2 separate regions of the Homo sapiens genome follow, and region 1 is linked to region 2. Evidence: promoter capture Hi-C in human tissues and cell types (Jung and others, 2019). All regions are on one chromosome and are shown on one strand. The core of a region is centred on a gene start or on the middle of the fragment in contact, and the rest is flanking DNA. Distances in the headings are between cores, read along the strand shown.

Region 1 (6,337 bases), core at 1,369-3,868, 680 kb after region 2:
CTTTTTGAGAGGTGACAGCGTGCTGGCAGCCCTCACAGCCCTTGCTTGCTCTCGGCACCTCCTCTGCCTGGACTCCCACTTTGGGGCACTTGAGGAGCCCTTCAGCCCGCCGCTGCGCTGTGGGAGCCCCTTCCTGGGCTTGCCGAGGCCCGAGACGGCTCCCTCAGCTCGCGGGGAGGTATGGAGGGAGAGGCCAGAGGGGGAACTGGGGCTGCGCGCTGTACTTGCCGGCCAGCGTGAGTTCCGGGTGGGCATGGGCTCAGCGGGCTGCACTCGGAGTGGCTGGCCCCCCCGCCCCGGGCAGTGAGGGGCTTAGCACCTGGGCCAGCAGCTGCTGTGCTGAATTTCTCGCCAGGCCTTAGCTGCCTTCCCGCGGGGCAGGGCTCGGGACCTGCAGCCTGCCATGCCTGAACCTCCCCCTTCACTCCCTGGGCTCCTGTGCAGCCCGAGCCTCCCCAACAAGCGCCGCCCCCTGCTCCATGGCATCCAGTCCCATTGACCACCCAAGGGCTGAGAAGTGTGGGCACACGGCGCGGGACTGGCAGGCAGCTCCACCTGCAGCCCCAGTGCGGGATCCACTGGGTGAAGCCAGCTGGGCTCCTGAGTCTGGTGGGGACTTGGAGAACCTTTATGTCTAGCTAAGGGATTGTAAATACACCAATGGGCACTCTGTATCTAGCTCAAGGTTTGTAAACACACCAATCAGCACCCTGTGTCTAGCTCAGGGTTTGTGAATGCACCAATTGACATTCTGTATCTAGCTACTCTGGTGGGGGACTTGGAGAACCTTTGTGTCCACACTCTGTATCTAGCTAATCTGGTGGGGAAGTGGAGAACCTTTGTGTCTAGCTCAGGGATTGTAAACGCACCAATCAGTGCCCTGTCAAAACAGACTACTGGGCTCTACCAATCAGCAGGATGTGGGTGGGGCCAGATAAGAGCATAAAAGCAGGCTGCCCCAGCCAGCAGTGGCAACCCGCTTTGGTCCCCTTCCACGCTGTGGAGGCTTTGTTCTTTCACTCCTTGCAATAAATCTTGCTGCTGCTCACTCTTTGGGTCCACGCTGCCTTTATGAGTTGTAACACTCACCACGAAGGTCTGCAGCTTCACTCCTGAAGCCAGTGAGACCACGAACCCACCCGGAGGAACGAACAACTCCAGACGCGCCGCCTGAAGAGCTGTAACACTCACCGCGGAGGTCTGCAGCTTCACTCCTGAGCCAGCGAGACCACGAACCCACCAGAAGGAAGAAACTGGGAACACATCCGAACGTCAGAAGGAACAAACTCCGGACATGCCGCCTTTAAGAACTGTTAACACTCACCGCGAGGGTCCGCGGCTTCAGTCTTGATGTCAGTGAGACGAAGAACCCACCCATTCCGGACACATTTTCATGTGTTATTTGTCGTCTGTAAATCTTCTTTGGTTAGATGTCTTCATGTTTGTCCATTTTCTAATTAGACTGTGATTTTACTGTTGAGTTGAGAGACTTCCTTATATATTCTAGTCCTCTGTTGGATATATGGTTTATAAATATTTTCTCCCAGTCTGTAGCTTGGTTCGCAGTGGCACGATCATGGCTCATTGCACCCTTGACCTCTTAAGCTCATGTGATCCTTCCACTTCAGCTTTCCTAGTTGCTGGGACCACAGGTATGCACCACCACGCCTGGCTAATTTGTTATTTTTTGTAGAGACAGTGTCTGGGAGCCTTTCCACACTGCCCAGGCCGGTCTTGAACTCCTGGGCTCAAGCAATCTTTCCTCCTTGGCCTCTCAAAGTCCTGGGATTACGGGTGTAAGCCACTGCACGGCCTCAGCTTGCTTTTTTTTTTTTTTTTTTCTTGGAGATAGAGTCTCTCTGTTGCCAAGGCTGGAGTGCAGTGGTGAGATCTCGGCTCACTGCAACCTCCACCACCCAAGTTCAAGCAATTCTCCTGCCTCAGCCTTTCGAGTAGCTGGGATTACAGGCGCCCACCACCACACCTAGCTAATTTTTGTATTTTCAGTAGAGACAAGGTTTCACCATGTTGGCCAGGCTGGTCTCGAATTCCTGGCTTCAAGTGATCTATCCGCCTCTGCCTCCCAAACTGCTGGGATTATAGGCATGAGCCACTGTGCCCAGCCTCAGCTTGCATTTTGAGGAATGAAAGCTTCCCACCTTCTTGGAGTTTTCATTCTGCTTGAAGACTACCATCAGACTGTCTAAGGCAGGCGGTTCTAAAAAGGGAACTCTTTTTTTTTTTTTTTTTTTTTTGAGACGGAGTCTCACTCTGTCGCCCAGGCTGGAGTGCAGTGGTGTGATCTCAGCTAACTACAAGCTCCACCTCCCGGGTTCACGCCATTCTCCTGCCTCAACCTCCCGAGTAGCTGGGACTACAGGCGCCCGCCATCACACCCAGCACATTTTTTGTATTTTTAGTAGAGACGGGGTTTCACCATGATAGCCAGGATGGTCTCGATCTCCTGACCTCGTGATCCGCCCGCCTCGGCCTCCCAAAGTGCTGGGATTACAGGCGTGAGCCACCGCACCTGGCCTAAAAAGGGAACTCTTAAACACACATACAATAAGCTCTACTCTGAAGATTCTGGTTCAGGGATGGAGCCAGCCCCTGTATTTTATCTGGGGACCTGCTGTCAGCCATTACCTATACTCCCAAGCCAGCCAAGCCTGACCTCACCAGATCTGGCCACTTCAGGTCTACAGCAGGAGAAACTGAGTGACTGGAGAGGGAATGGCTCTGCAGGCAGAAGCCAAGCACAAAGGCAAGAAGGTGTTCTTGGGACAGATTCCTGCTGAAGTCTGGAGGCCTAAGAGATGGGCTTTCTCTGCATGGGAGTGGAGCAAGGCTCTCTAGCTCCAACTGAGCCAAAGTAAATGCCCTGGGGCCAGGACCTTCTGTCCCTGTTCATTAATTTTTTTTTTTCTGTTGCCCAGGCTGGAGTGCAGTGGCTCAATCTTAGCTCACTGCAACCTCTGCCTCCCAGGTTTAAGCAATTCTCCTGCTTCAGCCTCCTGAGTAGCTGGGATTACAGCCAAACACCATCACACCCAGCTAATTTTTTTGTGTGTTTTAGTAGAGACGGGGTTTCACCATGTTGGCCAGGTTGGTCTCGAACTCCTGACCTCAAGTGATCTGTCCGCCTCGGCCTCCCAAAGTGCTGGGATTACAGGCATGAGCCACCAAGCCCGGCTAATTTTTGTATTTTTAGTAAAAACGGGGTTTCACTATGTTGGCCAGGCTGGTCTCAAACTCCTGACCTCAGGTGATCCACCCGCCTCGGCCTCCCAAAGTGCTGGGATTACAGGTGTGAGCCACCGTGCCCAGCCTGTTTATTGATTTAACAGCAACATTTATTGAGCTGTGTCAGGCATTATTCTCAGTGCTGAAGTTATAGATGTGAGCAAGACAGACCGCCTTTGCCCACAAGCAGCTTATGTTTAATGGCGGGGCATGAGATGTTCTAATCAGTGGGGGTAACATCACATAGAACAATATAGTATGTTAGCAGGTGAAAAATGCAGGGTTAGGGTGATGGAACTATTGGCCTAGTGCTCAAGGAAGGAAAAGAGGGAGGTGTGAGGGAATTATATGGCCAGGAGAAGGAACAGGTGGTGCAAAGCCCTAAGTGGGAGCACCTGGTGTGTCTGAGGAGCAGTGAGGAAATCAGTGTGGCTGGAGGTAACAGAAGGACCAATATCATGTGGGTCTCACAGACCACTATGATGACTTTGGCTATCACAAATAGGAGGAACTGTTGTGGATTTTCAGCAAATGAGATGTGATCTCATTTATGTACTAACAGAATTATGCTGGCTGCTAAGCAGACAGCAGACTGGAGGGGTAAGTTTGAAAGCAGGGACACCAGGCAGGAAGCTCTTGCAATAATTCAGGCAAGAGAGTAATGTGGCTTGGATCGGGGAAAAGAGTGGGCATGCTGAGATGTGGTCTGGTCCTGGGCACATTTTGACCACAGTATCAACAGGATACTTGCATATTCAATGTGGGGTATGAGAGAAGAGAATCAAGGGGACTCAAGGTGTTTGACAGGATCTGGCTGCCGTGGTCTGAGCTGGGGGAGGCTATAGGTGGAGTGTGTCTGGGGATGACCCAAAGCTCAGTCATATGTTTGGAGATGCTCAATTAGGCATTTACATGGAGATGTGGAGTAGGCAGTTGTCTACTGAACCCAAAGTTCAGGAGAAAGTTTGAGCTGGAGATAGAAATTCCAGTTTTCAGATGGCATTTAGAGCCAAGAGGCTGGGTATGTTGATGGGGGAGTAAGTGTGGATGCAGGGGAGGAGAGGACTAGAGTCCTGGGCAATCAAGAGTTAAGGCCCAACTTGAAACTTGGCCACTGCTCCCCTGATGGGAGGATGTTCTAGCAGATGCCTCCTTATTGAGGACCCTCCTCAATAAGGGTTCCACGGGCTTCTGCTTCAGGGCAAGTCCCAGGTTGAGATATCCCAGGACTGAAGTGTTGCTTTAATTAGTCTCTGCCCTCTGTCTGTTGGCAGTTTAGCAGCTTAGGGGCAGTGGCTCCTGGTGACTTCCCTCCATTAAGGACCCTGAGGCAGTGATCCAGGTAAGGGTGGGTAAATAAGCATCATTTTCCCCATTCACCTTCTTTCTCACTGTCTTTCAAGGAGCCGGCGCAGCGACACTTCTTCTCCAAGCACGACAACCGTACTTCCTTTGACAAAGTGAGTGCCGAAGACAGGAAGAATGGCAGGCAGTCCCCCAGCCTAAGCTGAAGTCTGGACAGAGCAGATGGTAGGGTGGAGGGGATGACACTGAGGGAGGGCTCCTTATGAAGGCAGAGGAGTGGCTGTCTTCCCCCACAAACTTTCTCCTCTGGGAAACAGCCTATTCCCCCAAACAGAGACATCTCTATGTTGGTTTCCTCTGCCAACTTGCCAGACAATATGCAAGTATCCTGTGGGCCACTAACTTTCTGGGTGCTTCACCTTAGAATGAAAGACATCACTGGGGAGGCAGGCCAAGGAGGCCAGGGTACAGGCCAAGACAGCCAGGCATAGGACAGGTATCACCAAGCAGACTTGGGGTTAGGAGGGGCCCAAGAAGGTGCTTGGTGCCAGGAATGTGGGCCAAGGGCCCATACCGTTGAGGAGGGTCCCTATTGCCTGCTGCAGGGAATCGGAAGGCGGAAGGACCTGGAGCGCCTGTGGCAGCGGCACACCTTCCTGCGCTGGGCACCCTGTGAGATAGAGTTGCGCCAGCAGGGGCCCCTGGAATCTTCTTACCAGGCTGATTTCAGGCCAGGCCCAGGACTCAGTGGCCTCCCCCAGCACCTCATCCACTTTGTGCAGGTCCAGCCTTCCCATACCAGGACCACCTACCAGCAGAACTTCTGCTGCCCATCCCAGGGTGGCCACTATGGCAGCTACAAGGTAGGGCCCCAGGCGCCGGTCACTGACGTACTGCCTGACCTCCCAGGGATCCCAAGACCCAAGCTGCTGCAGCACTACCTTCATGCTGGGGTCTCTGAGTGTCTAAACTGGTCCAGAGCATTAAACAAGGACAGCTGACACAGCAGCCTGTCTGTGCTTGCAGCCCACAATGGGATGTAGCCCAAGAGGCTGAAAGGTAGTAGTAGGCTGCCAGGTCCTGTGCCTGTCTCCCATGGCACTTGTGCCCATGGTGTGTTTCTGTGCTGGGCATGGGAGGTGCTGCTCTGGGATCCCTGCCACTAAGTGAGAAAGGGTAAGGCCTGCAGGAGGCTAAGAGTCCAGGAGGATTGCTATAGCCACATCAGGTGGGTTCCAGGGCCCCAAGTACTACTCTGTTCTTGCAGTAAACCCAGCTGTAGAGAGGAAGATTAGAGGGCAGTCCCCAGCCTAAGTTGAAGTCAGGACAGAGCAGGTGGCAGGGTGAAGGGGGTGACACTGAGGGAGGGCTCCTTATGAAGGCAGCGGAGTGACTAACTTCCCCACAACCTTTCTCCTCTGGGAAACAGCCCATTCCCCCAGAGACATCTCTGTGTTGGTTTCCTCTGCCAGCGTGCCAGACAATGTGCAAATATCCTGTGGGCCACTGACTTTCTAGGTGCTTCACCCTAGAATGAAAGGCATCACTGGGGAAGCAGGTCAAGTACTCAGTTTAGCTATGGGGAAAGCAGACCCCAGAGACCAGTACTAGTGGGCGACAAAGGCTGGAAGAAGGAAGAGTTGGCAGCTTTCTCAGGAGGCAGCTGCCTTTGAGGGGTTTGTTGGGTGGCCACACAGTCCTGTCCAAGAGACGGCTGCCCCACAGCTGAGACAGAAAGAGACTGCCCTGGGCCACAGAACCCACTGCACCACCCCTCCCTGTGGGGGTG
Region 2 (5,934 bases), core at 2,350-4,849:
TGGATAACTCCCTTCTTGGCTCTATCCCAAGTATTGCTTCTGGCACTCAGTTTCTTGCCTGCATCACACCCCTGCAGCCACACACAAGCTTTTCTCAGGCCATCAGGTGTGGGTGTAGCCACTGTGATTACCTTAAGTAGGAGTGCTGAGCAGCTGAGTACTTGGCCCTGGGGTGGATGGAGGTGGCCGGGGGTACTATGGAAGGAGTTTGGTTTGGTCACTGCCAAGCAATGGATCCAGCAAGCCTCACCCTTAGCCTTTCTCCACTGTGCTCCTTTCAGAAGGCTGTCCGAGTGACCACCCTCATGAAACGGCTCCGGGCACCAGAGCAGTCCAGCACGGCTGCAGCCCAGTCGGCCTCAGCCACAGACACTGCCACCCCCGGGGCTGCAGGTGGGGCCACAGCTGCAGCTGCGAGTGGAGCTACCTCAGCCCCTGAGGGTGATGCTGCTCGTGCTGCAAAGAGTGATAATGTGGCCCCCGCAGACCGTAGTGCCACCCCAGCCACAGATGGAAGTGCCACCCCAGCCACTGATGGCAGTGTCACCCCAGCCACCGATGGAAGCATCACTCCAGCCACTGATGGGAGTGTCACCCCAGCCACTGACAGGAGCGCTACTCCAGCCACTGATGGGAGAGCCACACCAGCCACAGAAGAGAGCACTGTGCCCACCACCCAAAGCAGTGCCATGCTGGCCACCAAGGCAGCTGCCACCCCTGAGCCGGCTATGGCCCAGCCGGACAGCACAGCCCCAGAGGGCGCCACAGGCCAGGCTCCACCCTCTAGTAAAGGGGAAGAGGCTGCTGGTTATGCCCAGGAGTCTCAAAGGGAGGAGGCCAGCTGAGTAGGCAGCCTGGTGAGGGGGGGCAGGGGATGGGCAGGAGGGTGGGAGAGTGGATGAGGGGCTTCTCACTGTACATAGAGTCACTGGCATGATGCCCTCGCTCCCCCATGCCCCCACATCCCAGTGGGGCATAACTAGGGGTCACGGGAGAGCAGTCTCGTCTCCTGTGTGTATGTGTGTGAGTGGTGGGCAGGCCAGTGGCAGGGCCGGCCCCAGCCCCTGCATGGATTCCTTGTGGCTTTTCTGTCTTTTGCTAGCTTCACCAGTTTCTGTTCCTTGTGGGATGCTGCTCTAGGGATACTCAGGGGGCTCCTGCTCTCCTTCCCCTTCCCTTCTTGCCTCACCATTCCCCTAGGCAGGCCCTGCAGGTCCCACACTCTCCCAGGCCCTAAACTTGGGCGGCCTTGCCCTGAGAGCTGGTCCTCCAGCGAGGCCCTGTCAGCGGTCTTAGGCTCCTGCACATGAAGGTGTGTGCCTGTGGTGTGTGGGCTGCTCTAGGAGCAGATACAGGCTGGTATAGAGGATGCAGAAAGGTAGGGCAGTATGTTTAAGTCCAGACTTGGCACATGGCTAGGGATACTGCTCACTAGCTGTGGAGGTCCTCAGGAGTGGAGAGAATGAGTAGGAGGGCAGAAGCTTCCATTTTTGTCCTTCCTAAGACCCTGTTATTTGTGTTATTTCCTGCCTTTCCGAGTCCTGCAGTGGGCTGCCCTGTACCCTGAACCTCATGAGCCTCTAAGGGAAAGGAGGAACAATTAGGACGTGGCAATGAGACCTGGCAGGGCAGAGTACAAGCCCAGCACCCAGTGTCCCAGCCTTACTGGGTCCTTACCCTGGGCCAAACAGGGAGGGCTGATACCTCCTTGCTCTTCCTAGATGCCCACCTCCTACAATCTCAGCCCACAAGTCCTCTCCACCCTAGGGGGCTTGCTGCATGGCAATAACTCATAATCTGATTTGGAGGTTTGCCCTTTACAGGGGCAGATTTTCTGCTCAGTTCAACAATGAAATGAAGAGGAACTCCCTCTTTCTACAGCTCACTTCTATCAGAGGCCCAGGTGCCTCAGAGCCACATTGAGTTGCTTTTTCTGGGATGAGGAAGTAGGGTTAAACTCCCCAGTTTCCTGAGGGAGGCTCCTGACAGGTGCCCTTTGTCAGACCCTACCACAGCCTGGATAGGCAGCCACATTGGTCCTCGCCCTTGCTCGGCACTCCGTGGTGGTCCTGCCCTTCTCCCTGCATGCCTGTGGGTCTGCTCTGGTGTGTGAAGGTCGGTGGGTTAACTGTGTGCCTACTGAACCTGGCAAATAAACATCACCCTGCAAAGCCTCTGGCCACCCTCTCGCCTTTGCTTCCTCTGTCCTACTGGGGAGGAGCCCCTGGAAGGCAGTGGGGAAGGGAGAGGCTGGGAGCAGGTTCACAAGTAGTGGCTGGGAGTAGTAGTGAACAGTGCCCTGTGGATTTCTTGGGCTGAGGGTGAAGATCATCCTCACCACAGTGTATTCCTCAATGGTGGTGGTGGTGGGGGTCCTCTGAACTCTAGAAATCCATGTGAGTAGTGGGTCTTGGGCTGCATTTGGACCAAGGAATACTCCCTGGGCTGAGAGCTCAAGTAAGGGCTGCTGTTTTTGACTCCTGTTGACCGAGGAGCCTTACTCTTGATTTAGGCATAGAGCTGGAATCTACCTGGGCCAGCCACCGCAAGGACAGACCCTGCTCATAGCCAAAGATAGCTTCCCTGAGCTAGGGAGAGGGTGTAGGGTGAGCAATGCACAAAGATTCTATGCTGCTCTGTGTTGATTCCTTCTTTCTGTGAACACCTGTGCTTTCCACCTATGCCCCAAATGAAATCTCACTCTGGGTCTATTTCAGCTGGAGCAGATCAGCTTTATATTATGGGACTATGCACAGGGTTTCTTCTGGGTAGAGGGAGTAACACTGCCACAGATACTAAGCCTAAAAACCCAAAAGTTGACTTACTCCAGCCCAGGTGGGCCTGGGTGAACTCACCAGGGATGCTGCTCTCTGGGAGGACCTCAAAGATAACCTCCTCAAAGATAACTTCTCTGATGTGGGAATAATAAAAAGGATTTGTTAGTCTCTAGTCTTTGAAGCATCTGGGCCTCCAAAATTCCAACCCTACTACAGTCTCAAGCATAACTGATCCTCCTGAGAGCTAAGAGCTAAAGTCAGGGTACTGGCCCTAGTGTCTCCAAACTCAAGGATAGTCATATCTTACTTGGATGAAGCCAAGGTTGGCCTGGGGTGACCTGAGGGACTGGGGCCTATGTGTCCATCTTTCTAGAATCGCCCGGAACTGAGGACTGAGAGGGTAGGGTATTGTGGTCTATGGGAACTACAGACCATAGCGCATGGTCCATCACTGTCCAGAGCCCAAGGGACCCATCGGGACCATTGTTCTATTCCCTTGCGGCTGCGGTTTTCTCTGCCTTGGCCCAGCCTGCCTCGCGCCAGCTCTGGCATGGGACCACAATGCGCTGCCTTGCCCTGGAAAAGGGTCCAGCTGGCAGCCTCGCTGCTCCCCGCCTTGATATAATGCTGCGCTCTCAAGTGGCAGGTCGAGTCTCCCCAGAGGACGCCTGAGAGCGACCGCGCTCCGCCCAGGATTCTCTACGGCCTCGGGGCCGCTAAGCCCCGCCCATAGTTCCGCCCATCCGAGAATTTGTCCAATCCAGGCGAAGTATTCACGCTCCGCCCAAAGTTTTGTGTTGTCACTTCCGGCCCGCTCCAGGAAGTCGTGCTGCGGAGCCAAATTTGAAGCAAGCGGAGGCGCGGGGGCGCGTCTACGAAGCCGGACCTGTAGCAGTTTCTTTGGCTGCCTGGGCCCCTTGAGTCCAGCCATCATGCCTATCCGTGCTCTGTGCACTATCTGCTCCGACTTCTTCGATCACTCCCGCGACGTGGCCGCCATCCACTGCGGCCACACCTTCCACTTGCAGTGGTGAGTGACTGCAGTGTTGGGGCCCGGTGTTTGCCCGGGTACCGCTTCAGGGCCTTGAGGTGTTGGGCCTCCAGGCGGTCCAACCCCGGAATCCAGACAAGTGATGAGAACCTTCCTCCTAGACGAGGCCCCACGGGAGCTTCCCAACCTGGGCAGAAGTGGGTCAGGACAGGCTTTCTGGTAGAGGTGATAGCTGAGCTAAGCCTGAGGGGGACTAAGATGGCTCAGTGAAGATAGATGCTTCCTTGATCACCTATACAAACAGATGTGATTTCAAAACCGTTAGCCTGGGCAAGGGTGAGCTTTCACCACATCAACAAGTCCTTTTATTTCTTCCAGATAGAAACCTGCTAGGCTTCTGGCTACCCAAGAGAGTTTGCTGTGCCTTACTTGATGGTTTGGAATTATTCTACCCAGAGTCATCTCACTGTCCAGACACCCCAATGTATTCGCCATGTCAGCAAACCCGTTTAACATGGGGAAGGCAAGGAGATGCTCCCCTATCCAGGGGTCCTGCTGACCGTGTAGGGCCATTCTGTTGAGTGTACAGCTAGTGGGGAAAGATTCCCCTAGCAGATGTGGACAGGCCGGTTTGGACCTCCTAGCAAAAGAGATAAGGCAGCGTTACCCCTGGGAATGGTGGGTGATAATAATCACAGGGTCTTGTGGGGCTAAAGGCCCTAGGAAGCAGAAAGGCAGGCATGACACTGATGGCTGCTGGCTTACTTGCAAAGCTTTGTTTAGGCCTGTGTTGCTGACAGCCTGAGCCCCATGCTGAGGGAGCCACTGCTGTTTGGTTAGACTAGAAATTAAGCTCGCCTCTAAGCGTACTCTATTTTCTGTTTGCCTACTCTATTTTCTTCTATCCTTTTACTTTATTTATTTATTTTTATTTTATTTTATTTTTGAGATGGAGTCTCGCTCCTGTCGTGTAGGCTGGAGTGCAGTGGCGTGATCTCGGCTCACTGCAACCTCCACCTCCTGAGTTCAAGTGATTCTCCTTCCTCAGCCTCCCAAGTAGCTGACATTACAGGCGTGCGCCACCACGCCCAGCTAATTTTTGTGTTTTTCATAGACAGGGTTTCTCCATGTTGGCCAGGCTGGTCTCGAACTCCTGACTTCAGGTGATCCACCCACCTTGGCCTCTCAAAGTGCTAGGGCCTATCCTTTTACTTTAAACTTTTCTGTGTCCTTGTGTTTTACATGTATCCCTTGAAACAGCATTTATTTCTTTTTTTGTATATTAAAAAGTACTTTAGCTTACTGCAAAGATCTTTATTTTATTTTATTTTGAGACAGGGTCTCACTCTGTTACACAGGCTGCAGTGCAGTGGTGCCATCTCGGCTCACTGCAGCCTCTACCTCCTGGGCTAAGGTGATTCTCCCATCTTAGCCTCCCAAGTAGCTGGGACTACAGGCGCCTGCCACCATGCTTGACTATTTTTTTTTTTTTGTATTTTTAGTAGAGATGGGGTCTTGCTATGTTGCCCAGGCTGGTCTTGAACCCCTGGACTCAAGTAATCCACCCACCTCTGCCTCCCAAAGTGCTAGGATTACAGGTGTGAACCACCGCACCCAGCCTTGGAAAACAACATTTAGTTGGACTTTTAAAAATCCAGTCTGATAATCTTTGTATTTAACTGGACCATTTAGTCTACTTAAAATTGTTGCAATTACTGATTAAATAAAGAGTAAACATATTGTCTTTAGTCGATTCTGTTTTGCCTTGCCTATTATATCTTATTGTCTCCTTTCTTGCCTTGGTAGGAATTGGTTAAATATTCTGTATTTCTCCATTTTTCCCTCAGTTAGTTGGGTCGTTATATACCCCATTTCCATTTATAAGTGGTTATCCTAGAAATTAAGGTATGTATCCTTAACTTACCAATTTCAAGGTTAATCAACACCTTTCTCATTTTCCCAGGCAACTCAAAGAGCTTAGAATACTAACATTCTTTTCCCACTTCTACGTTATTGTTGAATATTTTAATTGTGTGTATGTGTGGTATTTTTTTCGTTGGTGTTATTTTTGAGACAGAGTCCTGCTCTCTTGCCCAAGCTGGTCTGCAGTGGTACAATCTCTGCTCACTGCAGCCTTGACCTCCTGGACTCAAGCGATCCTCCTGC

Evidence for each region. Contacts are between HindIII fragments. The study calls those that stand out against the background at their distance.
Region 1: a contact is called between a fragment that was not itself captured here and the fragment with the promoter of TRAIP in region 2, in 2 of the 25 tissues and cell types used here (adrenal gland and pancreas).

What each region holds. Positions count from the first base shown.
Region 1 is chr3:49,176,848-49,183,184 of GRCh38, reverse strand. It overlaps CIMIP7 (ciliary microtubule inner protein 7), which reads left to right. Exons shown (of 4, transcript NM_001080528.3): 3 at 4,647-4,703; 4 at 5,133-5,551. The coding sequence ends at 5,549. Among named protein-coding and RNA genes, the nearest start is that of KLHDC8B, 8.4 kb to the right of the region's middle. The HindIII fragment of the contact is 5,587 bases long and covers 1-5,411 here.
Region 2 is chr3:49,854,229-49,860,162 of GRCh38, reverse strand. It overlaps TRAIP (TRAF interacting protein), which reads left to right and starts at 3,599. Exons shown (of 15, transcript NM_005879.3): 1 at 3,599-3,807. The coding sequence starts at 3,710. It overlaps CAMKV (CaM kinase like vesicle associated), which reads left to right. Exons shown (of 11, transcript NM_024046.5): 11 at 282-2,174. The coding sequence ends at 845. The HindIII fragment of the contact is 12,385 bases long and covers 786-5,934 here.